2 separate regions of the Homo sapiens genome follow, and region 2 is linked to region 1. Evidence: promoter capture Hi-C in human tissues and cell types (Jung and others, 2019). All regions are on one chromosome and are shown on one strand. The core of a region is centred on a gene start or on the middle of the fragment in contact, and the rest is flanking DNA. Distances in the headings are between cores, read along the strand shown.

Region 1 (4,232 bases), core at 345-2,844:
TGATACCCTCCTCCACAGGTAGCCCTTTTCCTGGCTTCTGTTCTTACCAAGGCCACCCCACAACTAGTCATCCCGCTGCCCAGAGAGCAGCCAAAAGCAGTGAGCAACTAGCTCTACATGGGGAGACCAGAGAAGCATCACTGAATCTGTCCAGGTTGAGCACCGGTCAGGGCCTTGGCCACCAGGCAGGCACTAGGGAGGAGGCAGACATTCCACATAGATGACACAAGCGCAGAGCCAAGAGGTGCGGTGTATCTGGGCTGGGAGCCTGGCTAGGGCACAGGAGAGGGCCACACACCCCGTGCTCCCACACCCAGGTCATCAGAGAAGATGGCCCTGGCACTTCTGCCTTCATGGGACCTTTCCTCCATTAAGAAATATTAAGAGTCATGCTTTTTCACTGTATTAGTATAAAGATGACTGTATTAATATACATACGAAAACATTTTATTTGACCTAAAAGTTCATTTTTTTTCTGCTGACTTTAAAAAAAAATAAAATAACATTCGAAGGCTACTAAAAGTACCGTGGGCAAGTGATACCAGGATTCCTGTGCCTGATGGATACATCGGCCCTGCATTTAGGGAGTTTGATTTTTTGGTGCAGTTCAAGGGGAGGTACACCGAAATAGGTAGAAAAGGGTCTCCTGGTTGCCACGGTTCTGATTCCCCACCACAGACTTAAGAACACACTAGCTCCGAGGGGAGTTCCAAAGCACGGACTCATTCATCACATACACGCAGCACGGCTAAGGGCCCCGCACAGTGGCGAGGTCTCTGCTCCCGGGACGCTCGCGCCGGCCACACAACGCTAGGCTGACTCCTGGTGCCTCCTCTAGGCCCGGTGGGACCTGAGGACTTCCTTAGCGCAACGTCTCACTGAATGACAGCCACAACCACCGCTGTCCAGGCGAGGAGTTTCCAGGACTGAGAGGCTGGCACTAGGCCACTGCTGGGAGGACGTCTGTGAAACCAGGTGCCCCTGAGAGCCACTGTCCCCAGCCCGACTCCGACGCTGGACTGGCGAGAGGGTGCGCCCGTGGCGTAGCTCCTGGCCGCCGCCGCTCCCGGGAAGGGCCCAGAGGCAACATCCTGGACAGCAGAGCTGCACGAAGTCCGAGGCGCCGCGAGCCCAGGTAAGCTCCAGCAGGCGTCCGCAGAGAGTGCCAGGCGGCCCGCGAGCCAGGCCCCGCCCGCCCCTGCCCCAGGCGCGGCCCCTGCAGGAGGGCGCCGCGGGTGAAAGGAGGTCCCGGGGCGACCCCGGCCCCGCTCGCCGCCCAGCCCCCACACCGCCCCCATCGCGCGGCGCACCTGGCCGCAGCGGCTCGGTGACAGTGAGCACGAGCAGGAAGAGCAGCAGGAAGGCGCCGCTGTCTGCCTTGGGCACCATTTATCCTCCGTTCATCGTCCCCGGGGCGGCTGGAAGGCCGGACCAGGCCGGACTGAGGGTCAGGGGACCGTGCCAAGCGGAGGGTCAGGCGGAGCTGAACCTGGGCGAGGCGCGGAGAGGCGGCGGGAAAGAGCTTCGGCTGGGCCGCGGGCTGGCGCACACTCTCGGCTGCAACCTCAGGCACCGACTCCAGCTGCGCGCAAGATGGCGGCCGTCCTGCTCGGCTCCGCGCCGCGCCGCCCCGCCCCGCCTCCCGCCCGCGACGCAGGCGCGGGCCAATGACCGTCAAGATGGGGGGCGGGGCCAGAGCCAAAGCCCTCCGAAGAGGGTGAGGCCTAAGGTCGCGACGGCGGAGGGCGGGGACCTAAGGGCGGGGACTGAGGGGCGGGCTCTAAGGGAAGGGCGGGACCATACGGAGTGAGGCGTGCCATTGGTTAAGCAGAGAGGCAGGGCCGGGGCCGGGGCCTGAGCGGCGGGGCCACCGAAGGGAGTAGGGTCTCTGGACGCCGGTTAGGGACGGCGGGCGCGGGACGGCAAGGATGGACATCGAAAGGCGCGGGGCATGGGGCGGGGCGCCGAGGGGTCGCGCGGGTGGGGAGCGGAGAGAACGAAGTGGGAACCTGGCTGGGACTCCAAGGGTCTTCACACCTGCAAGCTCAGGTCCCGTGAGCAGCCCAAAAGTGCGCCCCAAAGGGGTCTTTTTAAGGCCGAACCGCTGTGGAGGAGGGAGGGCCTGCCGGTTCTGAGGGTGGGGAAAGAGGAACAGGAATGGCCTAAGAGAGTGTCAGGCAAAGAGAGACCGGGAAGGCCAGGTCCTGGAGACTGCAGCGAAGCCGGCTCCCTGGAGGACCTGCCTACACAATGGCTAGGGGAAGGCCACATGTGCAGGAAAGAAAGCTAGGCAGAGAGGAGGCTCAGCGCCCCTGCGAACAGTGCTCCAAGTGCCACTTCTCCCGTCATCACCAACAGGGTGAACCTTGGAGGGCAGTGTCGGCGAAGAGTCCAACTCTGTAAAATATTTGAAGACATTTCTTCTGAGCCAATATGTGACCAATAGCCTGGGACACAGCCCCAGGAGATCCTGACAAGTGCCCAAGGGGGTAGGGCCACAGCTTGGTTTTATACATTTTAGGGAGACAAGACATCAATCAGCACATGTAAGATATACATTGGTTCAGTCGGAAAAGGCGGGACAACTTGAAAGTGGGGGGTGGAGGGGGGCTTCTAGGTCATGCGGATTGGCAGTTGGTTCAAAGAGTTTATCTAAAGACCTGGAATCAATAAAAGGGACTGTCTACATTAAGGGGTTGTGGAGACCAAGTTTCTTAGGCAAATGAAGCCTCCAGGTATCAGGCTTCACAGAGAAAAGACTGTTAATGTTTCTTATTAAAAAGTGCCAGACTCTGCCGGGTGTGGTGGCTCACGCCTGTCATCCCAGCACTTTGGGAGGCCAAGGCGGGCGGATCACCTGAGGTCAGGAGTTCAAGATCAGCCTGGCCAACATGGTGAAACCACATCTCTACTAAAAATACAAAAGTTACCCAGGCGTGGTGGCACACGCCTGTAATCCCAGCTACTCAGGAGGCTGATGGCAGGAGAATCGCTTGAACCGGGGAGGCAGAGGTTGCAGTGAGCCAAGATCATGCCACTGCACTCCAGCCTGGGCAACAGAGTAAGACTCTGTCTCAAAAAAAAAAAAAAAAAAAAGGAAAAAAAAAAGGAAAAATAAATAAAAGGTGCCAGACTCTAGTTAATTCTCTCAGGAGAAAAGACCTTGAAAGGGATAGGGATTCTCTACAGAATGTAGATTTTCCCCACAAAAAACAGCTTTGCAGAGCGACTTCAAAATATGTGAAAGAAACCTGTTTTGCAGTAAAATATGTGTTTCCTTCCGGGCCTGCTGTCATGCTGGTATCTTACTGCCACAGAGTCTGTTGTCAGTCTTCAAGTCTCTGTGTCGATGTTACACTGCTTAGCTGTGCCTGAAACCTGAAGGGAGGAGGGATAATGAGGCCTGACTCCCACTTCCTATCACGGCCTGAAATAGTTTTTCAGGTTAAGTTTGGAATGCCCTTGGTGGAGAGGAGGGGTCCATTCAGATGGCTGGGGGGTTAGAGTTTTATTTTTGGTTTCCAGGAGACAGTAGTTGGGGTGTCCCCAGCGGGAAGGAGAAGGAGGCTGTCTGGAAGGAGGAGAACCAAGAATGCACAAAGGCCTGGCAGTGGGCAGTCAGCGTTAGGGAAGAAGGTGAAGGAGCAGAGAAAAGGGGGAAGGGCCACGGCAGGTGGGGACCCAACCCAACATGAGTGACAACCAGCCCGCCCTACCAAGTCATCCTGAGGGGCCCAGGGTTCCACTTGGCTCCTGTGAGAAAGGGGTGCTCACTCCCTCTAGGTGGATGAGGCCAAAGTCAAATCCAAGGCTAGGATAGTCATGTGACTCCTACTCCCCTAGGGCATAGCCCGGAACAAGTGCTGGACACAGAGCCTGGCACAGCAGAGGGGCTCCACTGCCAGAAAAAACAATGGCCACACTCTCCAGTGCTGCCCCTGCTGCTTGTACTGTCCTCAGAGCAGCCACCAGTGCTCAGGGTGGCATCCAGTCCCCGCCTTTAGCCCCCAGCCCCAGATCTGCCCTGGGAGCCCAGCCAGGGGCAGAAAAAAAACTAGTTCATTGAGTGCCAGGGAGCCCTGCCCAAGGACATGGCGTGCAAGATGTTCCACCAACTCTCCTCAGCCATTAAATACTGCCACGACCTGGACATCATGCACCAGAACCTCAAGTGTTAGAACCTTCTCCTCGACAAGGACTTCAACATCAAGCTGTTCTACTTCAGGTTCTCC
Region 2 (3,878 bases), core at 1,222-3,721, 160 kb after region 1:
AATACAAAAATCAGCTGGGTGTGGTGGCGGGCACCTATAATCCCAGCTACCTGGGAGGCTGAAACAGGAGAATCACTTGAACACGGGAAGCGGAGGCTGCAGTGAGCCAAGACCACGCCATTGCATTCCAGCCTGGGCAACAAGAGTGAAACTCTGTTTCAAAAAAATAAATGGGCTGGGTGCAGTGGCTCACACCTGTAATCCCAGCACTTTGGGAGGCTGAGGTGGGCGGATCACGAGGTCAAGAGATTAAGACCATCCTGGCCAACATGGTGAAACCCCATCTCTACTAAAAATACAAAAATTAGCCAGGCATGGTGGCACGCACCTGTAGTCCGAGCTACTCAGGAGGCTGAAGCCAGGAGAATCGCTTGAACCGGGGAGGCAGAGGCTGCAGTGAGCTGAGATCATGCCACTGCACTCCAGCCTGGTGGACAGAGCGAGACTCTGTCTCAAGAAAATAAAATAAAAAACACATTTTATATTTGAAACACGCTGGGCGCGGTGGCTCACGCCTGTAATCCCAGCACTTTGGGAGGCCGAGGCAGGCGGATCACAAGGTCAGGAGATCGAGACCATCCTTGCTAACACGGTGAAACCCTGTCTCTACTAAAAATATAAAAAATTAGCTGGACGTGGTGGTGGGTGCCTGTAGTCCCAGCTACTCGGGAGGCTGAGGCAGGAGAATGGCGTGAACCCTGGAGGCAGAGGTTGCAGTGAGCCGAGATTGTGCCACTGCACTCCAGCCTGGGCAACAGAACAAGACTCCATCTTAAAAAAAAGAAAAAGAAAAAGAAAAAGAAACTTACCAAAGAGCCTTTCCTAGCCTAAAGAGGGAGCTCTGTAAATGAGGGCCTATGAAGAATGTTGACACTAAGGTCTCTTCCAGAACTTACATTCCAGGAGTAGGTTAGTTCAGGGATAGTTAACTACATTTATATAATGCTTTACAGAACTTCTCTCAAATTACACTATTACAGGTTTTCTTTATTTTAACACCAGTGCACAAGACTCTATATTTATCCCAGTTAAATGTCAACTAGCTGGATTCTGGCCTGTCAAGATATATCCGATTCTAATTTCATCACTGAACTTTGCTATCCCAGCTTTGTGGCATCCTTCTTCAGCCTGCCAAGAGTGATGGTCATCTCTCTGGCATGGAGGCCAGCAGCAGGCCTCAAGAGAAGTGGAAGAAAATGTGGGAGAAGAGCCTGCAAACTCAGTAAAGTCTCAGTGAAGAAGCAAAGGAAGGAAAAATCAGACAGATTGCAGAAAGATTCCCCCTTAGAGAAGGGGGTGACAGGGTGCCAGCAACTACTACCCTAGGGAATACTGATAAACAACATGTCAGATAGATGCAGTGATCTGTCTGTGATCCTATGGGAGGATCTTCAGTGTGTTAAGTTACAAAAGCAAAGGGCAGAAGCATATTTAAAGCAGGATTCTTTTGAACATTTTTGGAAGGATATGGTGGCTTCGTTTATAGTGGTTTCCCCTGGGGAGAGACAGACAGAGGCTGAACTGAAAGATTTTAATTCCCATCAGACTAGCCCCTGCAACAGAAATATCTCAGCAGAGAGGAACCTTGACTCAGATCCTCCTAGGACTTAATTCTTTCAACCCAACCAACTAAAAAAGCACTGGTTTGTGTAGCTTAGGCATTCTGAACATTTAAATGTTCTATGGTGAAGATCTGTTTTTCCAAAGAGTCCCCATTCAAATTCATTTACTCTTTGGTCACCCACAATGCCACAGCGGTAGGTACTCCCACAAGGCTCACCCTCGCAGACACCCTGGCTGAGGCAGGTTACTCTCCTTGCTTTGTAAATAAACAAGTCAGAAGGCAACTAACTGGCCAGTATGTATTTCCAATACCAGAAGCAGTGGTAGGCCAACAGGCAAAATTTAACAGTTTACATGGTATCTTAAAATGACATTTTACATGGGATGCAATAATTTTAGGATGCAATGAGCCAACTGCTGTCTTAGTACATCAAAAACCACTTCACAAAATGAGATAGCTACATAATGGCAACATAAACCAAATATGGACTGGATTACTATGGGTACGTGTCCCTTTTTGGAGCATGACCCCCAGAAGCCTCTCCAGACACACACGGGTGTGTGTGGATGGGAACTGTTTTCAGTTCAAGCTCAATCTACACCTTCACAGTTTTACTTTCCCCCCTCTTTCCTTAATGATTAATATTGACTAACATGTAGAAGGCTGTTTCACCTGGGCTGTGTGTAAGACTCACCTGGGAAGGAATACCAAAGCTCCATCTCCACCACTCAGAGCTTTGGATTTAACATCCAGCAGAAATATGTTTAAGGCTGCAGGCCATTCTCACATGCAGCCTAGGTAGAGAAGCACTGATTAAGATCTTGACCATCTTTCTCCTACAATTCTAATGCTCAAGGTCTCTACACCTGTTTCAAACACCGCCTCAGAGACACTTTGAGGGAACATGTTTACGTTTTCTGTGTATTGAGCTATGACACATTTCACAGCTTACAAACTTGGAGCTGCTTTTTTGATATAGCTGGGGGGAATTACTTAGGGCTCAAGAAAATTTTTATGTCACCAAACTATTCAGCCATTCCTCTTCTGAATCAAGATGTCTTAAGTGCTCAGCCCATCCTCAGATATTACAAACAGCAATACCCTTCCAACTCTCACATTTGAATATTTCTAAAAAGTTCAAATGGTAGCTCCCTGAGCTCACAATCCAGCAGAGAAAATGAACAGCTACAGTACCCTGGGAAGAGTGTCATTATAAGAGGAACCCCAAAGAGGCACAGAGGAAGAACTCCTAACTGACAAATCAGGGAGAGCTTCCAGAGACAGCGTCATTTCCACAGATACCAGAAGGCTCAGTAGGAGTCAGTGAGTAAAGAGGGGTGAGAGGAGAATGTGTTTTGGCAAGGACACAAAGGGAGCGGCAGCAGAGTTGAGCAGGTGTTGGGCTGGGAAGAACAGGAAAGAGCACGTGGGGATCAGTCTTTTCATGCCAGAGGAAACACGAAACCACTCCCTGAAGGACTTTAAGCAGATGCTCATCCTTGGAGATCATGTTGCCTGTGTGCTGGAGAATGGATCACAGGAGGGCAAGACTAGAAGTAGAAGGACAAAGCTAGCATGACCATCAAGGTGGGGAGGGATGGCATAGTTTAGGGAAACGGTAGTCATGATGACAGTGGCAGAACGATGCCAAAAGTAAACAGGAGAAAGGGACAACAGGATGGGGAAAACACATCCCAGGCTCCTGGCTGGACACTGGACAAGATACACATCTGGGGAGAAAGGGAACCCCATTTATGAACACTGTGTTTGAGGAACCTGCTGACCATTTCCTGGCCTTCTTCAGTAGGCAGCTGTCACAATGGCAGCAACAGCTCACAAGGACACAGTGCTTTACAGTAGTCCCTTCTTATCCGTGGTTTTTTTCACACTGTTACCTATAGTCTGAAAATATTAAATGTAAGACCCCAGAAATAAACAATTCATAAGTTTTAAATTGCATACCATTCTGCAGAGTGATGAAATCTTGCACCAGCCCACCCAGGACGTGAATTATCCCTCCTCTGCCCAGCATATCCACGCTGTAGACATTGCCAGCCCATTAGTCACTTAGTAGCGGTCAGTTACCAGGTTGACTGTTGCAGCATCACAGAGTTTGTGTTCAAGTAACCCTTAATTTACTTAATAATGGCCCCAAAGTCCAACAGTAGTGATGCTGGCATATTGTTATTATTGTTCTGTTTTATTATTAGTTATCATTGTTAATCTCTTACTGTGCTTAACATAAATTCAGCTTTATCATACATATGTATGCATAGGGAAAAAAAGTGTATAAAGGGTTCAGAACAATCTGCAG

The links. Contacts are between HindIII fragments. The study calls those that stand out against the background at their distance.
Region 2: a fragment that was not itself captured here is called in contact with the fragment with the promoter of DGCR2 in region 1 in 1 of the 25 tissues and cell types used here (spleen).

Annotation. Positions count from the first base shown.
Region 1 is chr22:19,120,818-19,125,049 of GRCh38, forward strand. DGCR2 (DiGeorge syndrome critical region gene 2) reads right to left here and starts at 1,595. Exons shown (of 10, transcript NM_005137.3): 1 at 1,311-1,595. The coding sequence starts at 1,389. It also overlaps the pseudogene TSSK1A. RefSeq lists an enhancer at 954-1,455 and silencers at 1,240-1,359, 1,480-1,919. The HindIII fragment of the contact is 22,645 bases long and covers 1-4,232 here.
Region 2 is chr22:19,284,501-19,288,378 of GRCh38, forward strand. The region is part of intron 1 of CLTCL1 (clathrin heavy chain like 1); the gene reads right to left. Among named protein-coding and RNA genes, the nearest start is that of CLTCL1, 5.3 kb to the right of the region's middle. The HindIII fragment of the contact is 5,026 bases long and covers 1-3,878 here.